2 separate regions of the Homo sapiens genome follow, and region 2 is linked to region 1. Evidence: promoter capture Hi-C in human tissues and cell types (Jung and others, 2019). All regions are on one chromosome and are shown on one strand. The core of a region is centred on a gene start or on the middle of the fragment in contact, and the rest is flanking DNA. Distances in the headings are between cores, read along the strand shown. Region 1 holds the start of ROPN1B (rhophilin associated tail protein 1B). Region 2 holds the start of ALDH1L1 (aldehyde dehydrogenase 1 family member L1).

Region 1 (7,818 bases), core at 2,471-4,970:
GGTCTCTCCTGAAAGAAGGCACCCGTGTTTGAGGCACACTGTTTTCAGCCATGCCTGAGGACCCCATCACTCTGCCTGGCCTTTCCCCAGAATGCAGTGTGTACTGTGAGGACATCATTATGTTGGCAGAACAAATCAGTTCAGAGAAACACCAAAGAAAATAACAATAATTTCCTCAAAGATACAAAGCCTCTTTGGTTGGGTCCAAGTATGAGTTTTAACAGCAGGGGAGGAAGTGTCTCCTTAAAGGAGTGAACTAGCAGGACTGGTCCCACCCCATCCACCCAGGGCTGTCGCTTCCCTCCCCCGGCTGCACTGCTGCCATCTAGTGGTGAGACAGGAGAATGAAGAAAGGCAGATTAAGCTGCGGAGATTCCCAGCCCTTCTTTCCACCGAGAGTGGGAAAAGGCGTGCAGGGAGGAGGTGGGTGTGCATACGCTGGTGTGACGCGGTCATCTAACTTGCTGCTTGCCCCAGGACACGGCCTATTGACCTGGCGTCCTACTGCTCAATCTGGCTCGCTTAGGGGAGGCATCCCATCCTTGCCCGGCTAGATGTAGTATTTATGTGTGGATTTTAAAGCATCAAAGCAATGCAAGAGCTAAAACAAAGACGATGCCAGTTAGTCCCGACCCCCTGGCTGCAGCCATGACAACCTCCGCGGTTTTACAGGACCCTCTCTCCCCGCCCGTCCTCCAAGAGATGAAGGCGAGAAAGGAGCACGTACTCGGCCCCCCACTGGATGAGGTCCTGCGGCTGCGCCCGAATGGCGGCTTTGGCAAACTCCTTCAGCATTTTCGGCAGCTCCGGCGGGATGCATGTTGGCTTATCTGTCTGAGCCATTGATTGGTTGACCTATTCTCAGGAGAAAAAATACATAAGATGAAAACTTGGACTCATAAGATGAGAGCAATCCTGGACAGGAGGTCACCCAGCCTCTGTTTGACACTCAATTTTGGGGACTCCGCAAGACAAATGCATTCTATTGTTACACAACGGCAAGGTTAGAAAGCCGTCTGCTAACCCCTACTTTTTGTTGTAAATAGTTATATCCTTTACGTAAAAATTACACAGTCCTTTTTTATTTAAAAAGTGGAAGTCAACAAAAAAATCCCTAATGGTATCACCCTAAAATATTGGATGTCTCCTTCCAGAATTTTTCAGTATAAATATATATGTTTGTAAAACAAAAAAATAAGATTATGCAAAACAGCTTATTTACTCAAAAGTATATCATGAACATCTTTGCATGTCATCCAGCTCTTATTAGCTAGGTAAGAATTGTAGCAAAATTTACTCTGAACCCTCTATGAATTAACATTAGGTTATTTCCATATAAAAATAGTCATTAAACAGCCATTTGATGAGCGTCTCTGTTTATAGCTGCATGTTTTTTCAACTCTAATTGTCAGGCGGAAAACTCGTACATTTTCTCTCAAAAAGTTCCAGGACAAATTGAAACAAAACATGAACATCCATAAAATATATACAATTCCATCCACAAATAAACAACAGATCAAAAGATTTTTTTCTGCTTTTAGTAGAGAAAGGGACAGACTAGATATGCTAAAAAGCTGTCCCTCTTCAAAACACCTAGAGGCCAGACAAATCTCAGTACAAGCCTTTCACATTGCCTTGCTGGGCTTGCAGTGAAGTGAGAGAAATCTTCCAGTGGCCAATGAGGTGAGGAAAGGGGAACCCGCAGTGCTGGGCAAATGAAGAAACTAGGGCTCACCTGGGCACATGTAGATGGCAGGAACTTGAAGCTTTGAGATAAATTGCTAGGCAGGGTGGATAGAGACCAAGGATTAGGCTCACAAAAGGCAAATGTCTGGACTAAAGGACTCCCCTTCTGACCTAAACTTGAGACCCGCCCAGGGACTACACCCTCAGCGTGAAAAGGTGTGGCTGAAAATATCTGCCTACAGGCTGGGGTAAGCAACAAAGAAACCTGTCTCCATTGCTGCTTCTAGTCAGGAGAGAAACAGTCCCCCAGGAGTTGGTAGCCACAGACTAGTTCTAAGTTTTCCATTTATACCAACACCAGCATGGCTCGGAAATCCCAAGACAAGAAACTAAAGTGGTCTTAGATTGGTGGGACTTCATGACCTTTTACTTTATTTATGTTCTTTTATTTGGAGGAAAAGGATGATAAAATAATGATTAATTTTAGACTTTGCAAAGTATTAGAAAAGTTTTAACAGTAATAACCACTAAATCTGTACAGAGGAAAAAAGGATTTTTTAAAATTTTTTTAGTATTTATTGATCATTCTTGGGTGTTTCTCGGAGAGGGGGGAAGAAAGGAATTTTTAAAAAACACAAAAAAGCAAACAAAACATGCCTCCCAATGTGAAATGGCAGCCCAACGTATACCTGCCAAGTGCTGAAGAATGTAGGTCTTAAAATAGACTGTATAGTCTTGTTTCAGGGATTTCTCACTTGTTTTTATTGGTATGGGCTAAACAGGGCTTCCATTTCATAAATGAAAGTCTCCATTACATGAATGAAAGGCTCCAGGGCAGAATCTCAGAGGGTTTCTATGAGCGGCTTGGAACCAAGCACAGACAACTGCACATCCCTGTTTGGGTTCGGAATTGGAGGTGGTGGGTTTGGGATGTGGTTACTCTTGTTTGGAATGCATTCTCCTCCTCTTAACAGGTTGATTCTTCCTTTGGAGGTCTGCTTAACCTTCCCTGATTACCCTGTCAGTTCCATTGTACATACCCTTCCAGAGCATCACTTACCTATCCTTAGTGTGATTCTTTGAGTAACATGTGTCTCCCCCAGCAAACTCCACGGCAGGACTGGTCAGTTTTTGCTCACCACACCATCCCAGTGCCTAGCCCAGTGCCTGGAACTTAGTGTTCAATAGGTACTAGTAAAAATGAATGCGTGATAGCAGTCTATGAAGTGCTAGCTATAAAATGAACACGTGATAGGAGTCTATGAAGTGCTAGGTATAAAATAATGCGTGATAGGAGTCTATGAAGTGCTAGGTATAAAATAATATGTGATAGGAGTCTATGAAGTGCCAGGTATAAAATAATGCCTGACAGGAGTCTATGAAGTGCTAGGTATAAAATAATGTGTGATAGGAGTCTATGAAGTGCTAGGTATGCCCATTGGTCCACATGACAATTCACCCAGAGGTATTTTTATATCCCTGTCGCTGATGAAAAAGCAGAGGTGTGGCTCCTCGGTGGAGGGCTCTGATTCCAAACTCTTGAGCCTCCCAACCACTGTCCTCCGGGTAAGAAACCGTATAATAGTATTCTGGGTACAAAATACGCACACAAATTGGCCAGAAAGCCATAATCCCCCACAGTCACATTCTCTTGAAGATCCCCTTGCCTTCCCCTTGCCCTCCCCTTGCCCTGTGAACAAGGAGAGGCTCAGAATCCAGGGGGCGTCCGGCAGGGCTCCTCCCTCAGACCAGCGCAGCCCTCGGGGCGCTCAGAGCCCTGCCCTCCCTCCACTTCCCCTCGGGGTGGCTACCTCAGGCTCGCTCCCAAACCGGCTGTCTGGCTTCAGGCGACACCTGGCGCCTGGCCTCAGGCGAGAGGTGTGGGGAGAGACCGAGTGCCTCCCACCCTTCTTAAGAAGGAGAGCAGTAGAACCTCGGCGGGGAGGGCAGCAGCGGCCGGGGGTGACAGCAGCGGCGGGGCACGACCGCCGTTAGCGTTAGACGTTAGCGCTCCGCCTTCGCCTGGCAAACCCTGCGCGGGCTCCGCTGCCAGGTCACCAGGGGTAGCGCCGGGCGCGACGTCACAGAGCCGCCCCGCCTCTCCTGCAGCGGCGGGTTCCCAGGGTCCCGCTAGGGCGCTGCTAGGGGACGCTGAAAGCTGTTTTGGGCTTTGCTGGTGGTGGAAGGACCAGACGGCCTGGAGGGTTAAGGACTGGGCTGGGGACGTTAGGAAACCCGGGCTGGGGGCGTTGGGGGTGGGGCGGAATGTGTAGCCATTGACGGTGCGCTTTTGTAGGTGAGAGGGCAGAAGTGGAGCTTGATCTTTCGGCTTGTGGAAAGTGGACAGGTGAGAATTCCTCAGGAATCATAGCAACAACACCTCTTACAATGCGTTTTTGGTGCCAGGAATTGTTCTAAGTGCATTACACACATGAACTCATTTCATCCTTACTGTCACCCCATGAGGCAAGTACTATTGTTATCCCCATTTTTACAGATGAGGGAACTGAGCACAGAGAGGTTAAACTTGTCCAAGATGACAGTCAGCAAGTGACAGAGTCAGGATCTGAATCTGGGTTGCGTGGTCCCAGATTCCTCACTCTTGACCTTATAATGCTAAGAAAGGGGCATGGAGTGGATAGGAACAGAGCCTGAGATGCCTGGGGACAACAGGGAAAGATAGAAAATATTTATAGGGTAGAATGTGGTCACTGTGCCAGGGCACTTTTACAAACATGATGACATCAAAGTTTCACAGTAAACTCTGAAGGTAGATATTACCTTCGTTTTAGAAAACAGGCTCAAGGCTTCGAGTAATTTTGCCTGTGATCAAACAGCTGGCAGTAGGGCCCAGGGCCCAACTTGTCTCCAGGTCTTCTGATTTCAAGACTGTTGTTTTTGTTTTGTTTTGTTTTGCTTTGCTTTGTTTTGAGACAGAGTCTCACTCTGTTGCCCAGGTTGGAATGCAATGGGGTAATCATGACTCACTGCAGCCTCAATCTCCTAGGTCTAAGCAATCCTCCCACCTCAGCCTCCCAAGTAGCTGAGACTACAGGTGTGTGCCACCACACCAGGCTAATTTTTATATTTTTATAAACAGGGTTTTGCCGTGTTGCCCAGGCTGGTCTTGAACCCCTGGGCTCAAGTGATCCACCCCCCCTTGGTCACCCAAAGCACTGGGATTACAGGTGTGAGCCACCGCACCTGGCCTCAAGACTGTTCTTTTTAAGCACCCAAAGAGGCAAGAAAAGCCCCATCTTTCTCTGCTACACCCCGTGTCACTTCACACCCATATGAAAGCTGCTCATTGCATCATGTAATCCTTCAGTCCATTTATACTACAGTGTGTATTAGTCTAAATCAATTAATTCACCCAGGGTCTTCAGAGCTTTCTCTGGTTGTGAGATGAAAGCCTTTGTCTCTCCCTAAAGCAATTTTAAGCATCAGTGAACAAGTGGGGGAACTAGATTTTTGGCTTATGCATGCAGAAAGCTTTTCACAGCCTGTTGTCATCCATTTGTAAAGAGGCCACTCTGCTGGCATTTGTCAAAATCCTGCAGGTCCTTGCACACCTGGAGAATCCTGGATGGTCTGGGGACGGCCACTGCCCACAGGGCAAGATCTGGGGATGAAAGAAACCTAGTCACTAGCTATCACCTATCTTTCTGAGGCCTCTGTGGAGGGGCTACCAGGTGTTGGTACAGGCACCTGACCAACAGAGTGTGCCTTAGGTTGGGAGGGGGAGGCTGGAGGCTTGAGGGCTGCAGGTGCATCTTCCAGGATAACAAGAATGCTCTGGCCACTGGAGTCTGTTCTGTTGTATGCACATGAGATGAAGGTGTGCCAATCTCTTCCTGCTTTCATGCTGAGTAAATAATACTGACAGGAATGAATAATAATGATCTTTGTGCAGAAGAACAGGTTTTTCAGACAAAGCACTAACAGCTGGAGATGGAAGATGAAATAAAATAGAATTTTAGAGTAGCAGGTTAAACACAAGGGAGGAATTTCATAGCACTGTCTGACTGAGGTGATTTGATGTCTGTCTGTAGGAGGCCAGGTTGAGAGGCGTAGGTTAGATTATCCTTGATCTATCAGTCAATAAATAACAGGATACAATAAATAACAGGATACAGTCAAGAGAATATAATTTTACAGGGAAACGATAATAACACAATTCAGGAAAGTTGCTTTCTTCTAAAACAGAGGTAAGAGTAGAGAGGGAGGAGCACATAGATGTTACCGGTAGTGGTCCAGCTCTTGGGGTGGATGGTGGGTTCATGGGTGTTTATTATGTTTCAGTAAAAAAATCTGTCTTATATATTACAATAAAAACTTTTATTACATAAAATCTTTTATCAAGTAGGTTACATTGTTTTCTGCTATTTTCTTGTACAAATGAATATCCTTTCTTATCATTTCCCTTGTTCTACTAGATAATTCCCATCAATATACAAACATGCTCTAATTTCTCCCATCATTTTCCTCTTCAGCTTTCACCCATTTCTCTGCTTCCCTTTATTGCCAAGTTCTTTAAAGAGTTGCCCATACCTGCCACCGCTAATTTCTCTCTTCCAAATCTCTTTTTAATCTACTTGAACCAGGCTTTCATCCCCATCACTCCACTGAAATGACTTGTGTCAAGGTCCCCAGTGACATGCTGTTAAATCCAACATCATCTCTCAGCCTCGGCTCAACCTATCAGCAGCATTTGATCCTGTTGATCACTTTCGCATGATTGAAACACTTTCTTTCCTTGGATTCCAGGACATCACACTCTTGGTTTTTCTCCTTTCTCATTGGCTGTTCTTTTGCTTGTTCTTCCTCCTCTCCCTGACACTTTAATCTTGGAGTGCCCCAGGATTTACACTTGGACTTCTCTATCTACATGCACTCTCTTTTTTATCTCATTCAGTTTCATGTTTTGGATATTACATTTATGTCTTCAGCCCTAATCCTTCCCTAAACACCACAGTAGAACATCCAACTGTTTACTCTGCACCACTGGATGTCTAATAGGCTTCTCAGACTTAATACACCCCAACTGCACTCCAAGATTCCTCTCCAAACCAGCTCCTCCAGGCTTCCTCATAGCAAAATATAGCAACTGTAAATTCTAGTTGCCCAGGCTAAAAACCTTGGCATTATCCTTGGCTGCTTTTTCTCTCACACCTTAAATCCAATCAGAGCAAATGCTATTGGCTGTATCTCCATAAGTCATTCAGAATTGGAGCACTTCTCTCCACTTCCATCACCTTGGTCCAAGCAAACCTCATCTCTCACCCGGACCACTACAATGGCTTCCTAACCCATCTCCCTGTTTCCGCCCTTCCCTTCCGATGGTCTGCTCTCATCACAGGTGCCCAATCAAATTACTGAAAACCTAAGACTGATCATGTCATTCCTCTGTTTAGAACCCTCAGTGGCTGCCACATTATGCAAGTAAAAGTCAAAGTAACCCACAGGCCCTTAAACTCTCTGAACCCATCATTTCCTCTTTTCTCCTTCCTCACTTCCCTCCAGCCATGCTGGCCATCTTATTATCCCTCAGAAAGGCCAGACCCTCTCCTGACTCAAGACTTGTGCACTTGCATTTTGTCTGCCTGGAACATGATTTCCTCAGGTATCCACAGGCTTCACTCGTTAGCACCTTTAGTTTTGTATCCAAATGTGACCTTCTAAGGGAGTCTTATCTGACTCTTTTAAGTTGAACACCAATATCCCTTCCAACTCCTCCCTTGCTTTACAATCATTACATACTATGTATTTTTAAATTTTTGTTTTATTGATTTCTCTATATTTTTTCCCTGGAGTGCATGGGATTCTGTTTGTTTTAGTCACTGATGTATTTCGGGAGCCTAGAACAGAATTGTGCACATAATGGGCACCATAAATATTTGTTTACTGAATTAAATTCTCCTTTTTTTCTCTCCTTCCACCTTGCTTCCCTTTCCTTCCTTCTTCTAAGAGGCCCTTCTGAAAAATGATACTTCAGTGTCCATTGAGATTTGCATGTTCAGTATCTTAGGGACCAAAGTTCTATTTGGCCAGGTGACGACCGGTCTGGCACCAGAGAGTGGGAATCCTGACGGTCTTCTCTACCATCTCAGCCTTATACTAAGTATCAACTGT
Region 2 (7,818 bases), core at 2,088-4,587, 210 kb before region 1:
AAATCACACAGTTACTTCCACCATCTTTCATGTGTTAAAAGGAAGTCACTACGTTCAGCCTACATTCAAAGGCAGGGGAATTAAGTGCCACTCCTTGAATGGAAGAGCATCAGAGAGTTTTAAAATGACCACAGTCCACCTACTGGCCACAAACTACTTACATCCTTCCACATGCAAAATACATTCGCCCTCCAAACATCCCCTCAAAGCCTCATCCCACTGTAGAATCAGCTCAATATCCAGAATCTCTGCATCTAAATCAGGCTTTGATGTGGGTGAAGCACCTGGGGTATTATTCCCTCAAGTGTAGCTCCTTGAGTAGAGTTGCTCTCAATCTACAGACTTAGGAATTCCAGAGACAAATTAACTGCGCCTCCCCCCTGCACCCACCTGACATAAACTGGTGGGATAGGCATTGGATAACCACTGTAGACGTGCCTGCTCCAAAGGGAACAAGGACAGGAGGCATGCAGGAGTAACTAGTGTACGGCAATTCTAAAATCTTCCTGGGCGGGTCCTGAAAGTCTCTTGAATAGGACTCAGTCTGACTCTGGCCCCAGAGTGATTCTCCACGCTCTTGGCTCCACCCTTTGGGTTCTTTGTTCTATTCCCCAAGTCATCCCTTCTTTTCCATGAAATGCAGCCCAGGTTCATATCCGTATAGTTTCTCAGCTTGCTTCCTCCCAGAATTTGGGGGAGTCTAGAGGTCTCTTTTCATTTTATATTGTCTCTGACCCTTTCAGTCCAAGTCTACACTGTTTTGCTCATATAATTCTTTTAAAAATGTTGCATGTCTCCTGTAGATCTCACTGAGGTTCATGCCTTTAGACAACTGTCAAACCCACACATCTCTTTGAGAAAAGCCCTTCTCTCTCTTGGGCTTCTGCTGAGACTGCTGTCAAGGACAACTGTAAGCTTCTTAGAAATCCTACTATTTAACAAAATATTCTGAGGTGTCCCTTTGTTCTCTTTGAAGATTTTACAAAAGATCTCATGACCACACTCTTGGCTTCATCTTTAGGCCATCTTCCTTGCACTGGCCTGCATTTGCTCTTTGCCTGGAAGCCATTTGTTAGTTTTAGCATCATATGACATCTGGAGAAGCTGGACATTTTCACAGCCCAAGTTATGGTTCCTTTTTATTTAACAATCCTTCCTTTGGCTTATGTCCCTTCTCTCACATTTTAGTATAAGCAGCAAGAAGAAGCCAGGAGGAGGCACCTTCAACAATCTCCTTAATGAGATCCCCCAGTTCATCTGGTACATTTTCTACTTTCCACATGATTTCGGAACACTTTCTGCTTAAAATTCCCTCCTCTCCTGCTCCATACCTCTAAGAGTATGGATTCCTCTCTGATTTCCTAATACATCTTTTTGGGGTGTCTAACCTCCAAGCCATTGTTCAGTGGTTCCTGTCGCCCATCTGCCTTCTCAATTTTAACTCCCAAGTTCAGAACACACCACTTTCCCATTGCAGGCCCCTAACACTCAGCCAGTTTTCCTACAGATTATATGGCACACCTTCCACACACAGGGCATGCATTCAGCCCTGGGGACTTCCCAGGAGAATAAGCTAGTCTTCGCCATCATTGTCCAGAGACATGTTAATCAAGCAATCCCAGAAGCAGTGATAAAATTGCAGTTGAAGGCAGGGTGCAGTGGCTCATGCCTGTAATCTCAGCACTTTGGGAGGCTGAGGTAGGTGGATCATCTGACGTCAGGAGTTTGAGACCAGCCTGGCCAACATGGTGAAACCCCGGTGAAACGTCTACTAAAAATACAAAAATTAGCTGGGTGTGGTGGCGCATGCCTGTAATCCCAGCTACTCAGGAGGCTAAGGCAGGAGAATCGCTTGAACCTAGGAGGTGGAGGGTCCATTGAGCTGAGATTGCACCATTGGACTCTAGCCTGGGTGACAGAGTGAGACTCTACCTCAAAAAAAAATAAATAAATAAAGTTGAGAGAGGTTCATGAAGAAAAATTACAGGCCTCTCTGTGATCACATAATGGAGGAATCTGTCCTAGTAAGGCTGAGGCTAGGGAAAGCTTCCCTGAAGTCATGGCATTTTAGTAGGAACTTCCTGAAGAATGATGGGGGTTCTCTGGACAAAGATGAACGGCACATGGAAACTTTATGAGTCGAGAAGTTCCACAGATATGAGGGACAGCAGGGAGACCTGCAGGCTGGAGCCTAAAGAACAAGGGGACAGTGCCTGAAAGTAGGCTAAGTGGATCAGCAGGCACAGGCCACCTCAATCCTGGGTGCCCATACTGGCTTATGTGAGCAAAATACATGCATTAAGCCATTCAACAAACATTTATTTAGCAACTGCTACAAGCCATCACTGTGTATTGGGGATACAACAGTGAATACATCTCACAAATTTCCTGTCCTCAAAGAGCTTACAGTCTAGTGGGAGAGACAGACAATGAACAAACAAAGAAACAAGGAAATATCAGATATACAGTTAAGTGCTGTGAAGGAAATAGAACAGGGTGATGTGGCAGGGAGTGGCTGAGGGACTTCCTTAGTTTGTGTGACCTGGAACAGCCTCTCTAAGGCTCTGCATCAGATATCTGATATGTGATACCATATGGGAGCAGGCTCTGAAAGAACACTACAAGTAGAGAGGTAAAGGCAGGGGCTGCAGCAAGCCTGATGTGTTCAGGCACTGAGCAGAGAGAGGGCCAGGTGGTCGGGACTTAGCGAGAGGGTCGCCTCAAAAGAAGTGAGGCTTAGCAGGGCACGGAGCAGTGCGGCCGCAGGTGTGGTGGGAAGGGTGTTCCAGGAGAAGGAGCCACCTGGACACAGGCTTGCAGTCATGAAACAATACGCAATTATCACTCCCGGCATTCTACATGGCCTTGCCTGAGACCGGGCTGGCCAGGATCTCTGGGAACCAGGAGGAGGGGTCTGCGGCACCAGGACTGAGTAGAAGGGAGAGAGTGGAGAAGGGGAATTGCAGAGAGAAAACCAGGGGCTGTTTTTCTCTCGGAGAGGCGGGTAGGCACTGGGCGGGCAGAAGCGCCGCTATCCACCCGGATGCGCAGCTGCTAAGGGGCCGCCTCTGCAAGCGGCTGCAAATTCCCGGAGGGCAGCGTCTCCTTTCGCTCTGCTGTGTCCGTAGCACATGGCAGGTACTTGGCCCATCAAGAGTGAGAGAGGGTGAGCGAGTGAGTGAGTCACCGGCTTGGCGAGGGTCTCCTCTGACCCACTTAGCCTTGCCAGCGCTCAGAACTGCCAGCCCTGCTGGGTGCTTGGGACTTTTCAAAGCCCTGGGAATTCTCCAAGGGTCCACAGTAAGTCTTCTTGACCTAAGCGGGAAAGAGCGCAGGCCCCTGCGGGGTTGGCTTTTACATGGCATTTATAGACCCGCCCGGAGAGGGTGCGCTGCGCTCCCGCCATAGTCCCACCACCGGTGAGCGCCGCCCCCACTCGGCTGACTCTCCGCCCGCCCCGCGCCCCTCCCCTCACGGGCTCTGGCCTTAACCAGAGCTCGCGGACTGGCGGGGACAGGTCCCACCTCCTGGCTCCCAGGACGGGTCTGCACCAACCTCAGTTTCGGGGCTGCGGCTCACAGAAGTCTAACCTGCCCGGGACGCCCGCACCAACTCCTGCGCGCGGTGAGTTTCTGGGCTCTCGAGAGCGCTGGACTCCCGGCGGAAAGGAGGCTGCCCCGGCTGCAGCTCCGGGGGCTCCGGGGGCTCCAGGGGCTCCAGGACTCGGTTCTCACCGCAAGGGCTCCTGCGGGGCCCATCAACTTCGCCGCTGGGACGCCGGGCTCGGGGTACGGGTCCGGAGTTCTTTGGAGCAATTGAGGCTGAACCTGGCCAGGGGTCATCAGGCTAAATGACCGCAGCGCCAGGACTGGCCCGCCGAGGATCTGGCCGGCCGCGGTGGTAGGGCCCTTACGGAGCTGGCGCCAACCTGTGGGGTGGGCACTGCTGGCCCGGCTTATGGAAGAGAAAACTGAGGCTCGATAAGAGAAAGGGACCAGCGAAGGCGACGCGATGATTTGTGACTGGGGACTACCTGTTTCCTGGGCCCCTCGACCCCATTCTGTGACAGGGAAAGGTCTTCCCTGATTGGCCAAATCTGGGGGCCTGGCACGAGGGCCTCTTGTGATTGGAGGGGTCGACGTGAGCGCTCAGGGGCTGCGCTGGAGTCCCAGCTCCAGCCACTGCGCTCAAGTGGACGGTCGCGCGTGCAGAGGGAGGCCGGATAGCAGACCCCACAACGTGGCTCCTGGGGCCCCGCTATCGAGAGCTCAGGCCCCGCGGGCACTTGCCTAGGAGAGGAAAGAATCTTCCCAAAGTGCAGACAGAGACGGAATTTAATCAGGAGTCCCAGACTTGGAGTTTGGAGGCATGGGCTCTGGTGTCAGGTGACTTTGTTTCCTCCCCACGCCTCCACTTCTCCTTGACCTTGGGCAAGTTTCTTGTGTTCTGAATCTTAGTTTCTTGTCTCTAAAATCGGGAGGGGCAATGAACAGTAGTGCCTGCCTCCCAAGATTGCTTGAGAATTACATGAGACTGCCCCGCGCCTGGCCCTAGGAAACCCTCGGAGAATGTTGGCTGCTGTTTGTTTGTTTGTTTGTTTGAGACAGAGTCTCGCTCTGTCGCCCAGGCTGGAGTGCAGTGGCACGATCTCGGCTCACTGCAACCTCCGCCTCCCGGGTTCAAGTGATTCTCCCGCCTCAGCCTCCCGAGTGCTAGAACTGCATTCATGGGCCCCAGGGCCCTAGCACCAGAACAGAGGGCCCAGAGCTGCAGTCCTGCAGGGTGGCCCAGCCTCACAGGGACTAGAAGCTGGGTCCTGGAGAGCCAAGCCTGGGCTGGGAATTGGGTAGGAGGGTTGGGAGGCCCAGGAAGCCTCCCAGTGTCCCCACACCACCAAGTGAAAGGACACTGAGCGGCCATGACTGGGGGAGGAGGTGGAGGCCTGGAGGCGGCCCATACGGCCCACAAGGGGCTCTATGGGCTTCACTGCAGGCCCCTGCTCTTTCTGGGGCCAAAGGGCAAGCCTGATTGAGGCCCCTCCCAAGGCTCCCGTGCCTGCCATTCTGGCTTTCCCTGGACTGTGACAACAGCCCCTTGGTGGCCACCTGGACTCTGCCTCCCTGCAGGGGGGGAACGACATACTCTTTTATTTTTTTTTTTCAGAAGTAATCATGTACAATATAAAAAAAGAACATTCAGTTAAGAAAACAAAATAATTACAGTCGTCAAAAACCTCTGAAACCCAAAACCCTTTACCCAGTAACTTTCAACATTTCAGTGTAAATTCTTCTAGGCTTTTACCCTGCAGATAAACACACGCATGCACACACAGACACACACACACACACACACAAACTTAAGCCTTACACAATTATCGTGGTTTGTTACTTGTTGGGTGTTTTGACAGTGTCAGGTTTGTATAACTCAATATTTACCAATATTTTCTAATAATTTAATGTTTTCTTCTTATATTTGATTTTCAAGTATTTATTTTTAACCCAATTGGACTGTATTTTAGAGTAAGATGTGAACTATAGAGCTAGATTCATTTATTTATTTCAATTAGTAGACATTTTTAGAGCAGTTTTAGGTTTACAGAAGAATTGAGGACGGAGTGCAGAGTTCCCATATTCTCAGTCTGTCCCTTCCTGCGCGCTTTCTCCTATTTTTCTTTCTATTCTTTTCCTTTCTTTTTTTTTTTTTCTTTTTTTTTTTTTTTGAGACAGGGTCTCACTTTGTTGCCCAGGCTGGAGTGCAGTGGCACAAACACAGCTTACTGCAGCTTTGAACTCCTGGGCTCAAGTGATTCTCATGCCTCAGCCTCCCAAGTAGCTGGGACTACAGGCATGCACAACCACGCCTGGCTAATTTAAAAATTTTTTTGTAGAGATGGGTCTCACTTTGTTGCCCAAGCTGGCCTTGAACTCAAGGGCTCAAGTGATCCTCTGCCTTGGCCTCCCAAAGTGCTGGGATTACAGGCATGAACCACTAGGCCTGGCCTCCCCTATTTTTAACATCATGCATTGATAGGATATTTTTGTTACAGCTTTTTTCTTTTTGAAACAGTCTTGCTCTGTTGCCTAGGCTGGAGTGCAGTGGCACAATCTCAGCTCACTACAGTTTCTGCCTCCCAGGTTCAAGCAATTCTTGGGCCTCAGCCTCTCGAGTAGCTGGGATTACAGGTGCACCACCATGCCCAGCTAATTATTGTATTTTTATAATAGTAGAGACAGGGTTTTACCATGTTAGCCAGGCTGCTTTTGAACTCCTGGCCTCAAGTGATCAGCCCGCCTTGGCCTCCCAAAGTGCTGGGATTACAGGTGTGAGCCACCAGGCCTGGCCAATTTTGTTATACTTGGTGAGCCAATATCGATGCAATGTTATTAATGAAAGTCCATAATTTACATTAGAATTCCCTCTTGGTGTTGTACCTTCTATGGTTTTGGACAAACATATAATGATGAGTATCCAGTGTTACAGTATCATAGAGAATAGTTTCACTGCCCTAAAACTCTCCTGTGCTCTACCCATCCACCCCCCAACCCCCCTACCTATCCCTGGCAACCACTGGTTACTGCCTTTGTAGTTTTGCCTTTTCCAGAATGTCATATAGTATGTATGAATCATATGGTATATAGCCTTTCCAGACTGGCTTCTTTCGCTTAGCAAAATGCATTTAAGCATCCTCCATGTCTTTCTGTGACTTGGTAACCCATTTCTTTTTATCATTGACTAATATTCTGTTGTATGGATGTGGAGGTACCACAGTTTATTTCTCCATTCACATACTACAGGATATCTTGGTTGCTTCCAAGTTTTAGCAGTGAATAAAGCTGCTATCAACATTTGTGTGCAGGTTTTTGTGTGGACATTAGTTTTCTTCTCCTTTGAGTAAATATCAAGAGCGATTGATGGATCACATGGTAAAAGTATGTTTCGTGTTATAAAAAACTACCAAACCTTTTTCCATAGTGGTGGCATAATTTTTCATTTCTACCAGTAATAAATAAGAGTTCCTGTTGCTCCACAGCCTCATCAGCATTTGTTGTCAGTGCTCTTAATTTAACTCTTCTAATACGCATATAGTAGTATCTCATTGTTATATTTTAATTTGCAATCTGTAATGACTTACAGTGTTGAGCATCTTTTTAAATGCTTCTCTGCCATCTGTATATCTTCTTTTGTGAATGTCGGTTAATTTACTTGGCCCATTTTAAAATTGGGTTGTTTGTTTTACTGTTGAGTTTTAATAGTTCTTTGTATATTTTGGATAACAGTGCTTTACCAGATATGTCTTCTCTCCCCAACCATGGCTTGTCTTTTCATTCTCTTAACAGTGTCTTTTGCAGAGCAGAAGTTTTAAATTTTAATAAGGTCTAATGTACCATTTTTTTTCCTCCATGAATTGTGCTGTTGTTGTTGTATCTAAAAAGTCAAATCCAAGTTTTGGCAGTTACAAATAAAGATGCTGTAAACATCAGTGTACAGATATTTGTGTGATTTTTGTGCAATGCAGATTTTCTCCATTGTCTTGCCTTTGTCTCTTTGTCAAAGTTCAGTTGACTGTATTGATGTGAGTTTACTTCTGGGCTCTCTATTCTGTTCAATTGATCTATCTGACTATTCTTTTGCCAATACCGTACTGTCTTGATTACTGTAGCTTTATAGTAAAGTCTTGGGGACAGGCAGTATCGGTCCTCTAACTTCGTTCTCCTTCAATATTGTGTTGACTATCCCAGGTCTTTTGTCTCTCCAAATAAACTTGAGAATCAGTTTGTTGATATCCACAAATAACTGCTGGGGTTTTGATTGGGATTG

What was found. The method cuts DNA at HindIII sites, captures the fragments that hold promoters and counts their contacts. A contact is called where the count stands out against the background at its distance.
Region 2: a fragment that was not itself captured here is called in contact with the fragment with the promoter of ROPN1B in region 1 in 1 of the 25 tissues and cell types used here (thymus).

What each region holds. Positions count from the first base shown.
Region 1 is chr3:125,965,080-125,972,897 of GRCh38, reverse strand. It overlaps ROPN1B (rhophilin associated tail protein 1B), which reads right to left and starts at 3,720. Exons shown (of 7, transcript NM_001308313.2): 1 at 3,498-3,720; 2 at 1,736-1,781; 3 at 728-855. The coding sequence starts at 843. It also overlaps the pseudogene ALG1L1P. The HindIII fragment of the contact is 7,959 bases long and covers 1-7,619 here.
Region 2 is chr3:126,176,282-126,184,099 of GRCh38, reverse strand. It overlaps ALDH1L1 (aldehyde dehydrogenase 1 family member L1), which reads left to right and starts at 3,514. Exons shown (of 23, transcript NM_012190.4): 1 at 3,514-3,624. It overlaps ALDH1L1-AS2 (ALDH1L1 antisense RNA 2), which reads right to left and starts at 4,035. Exons shown (of 2, transcript NR_046383.1): 1 at 3,556-4,035. RefSeq lists enhancers at 2,345-3,098, 3,099-3,854. The HindIII fragment of the contact is 3,712 bases long and covers 1,482-5,193 here.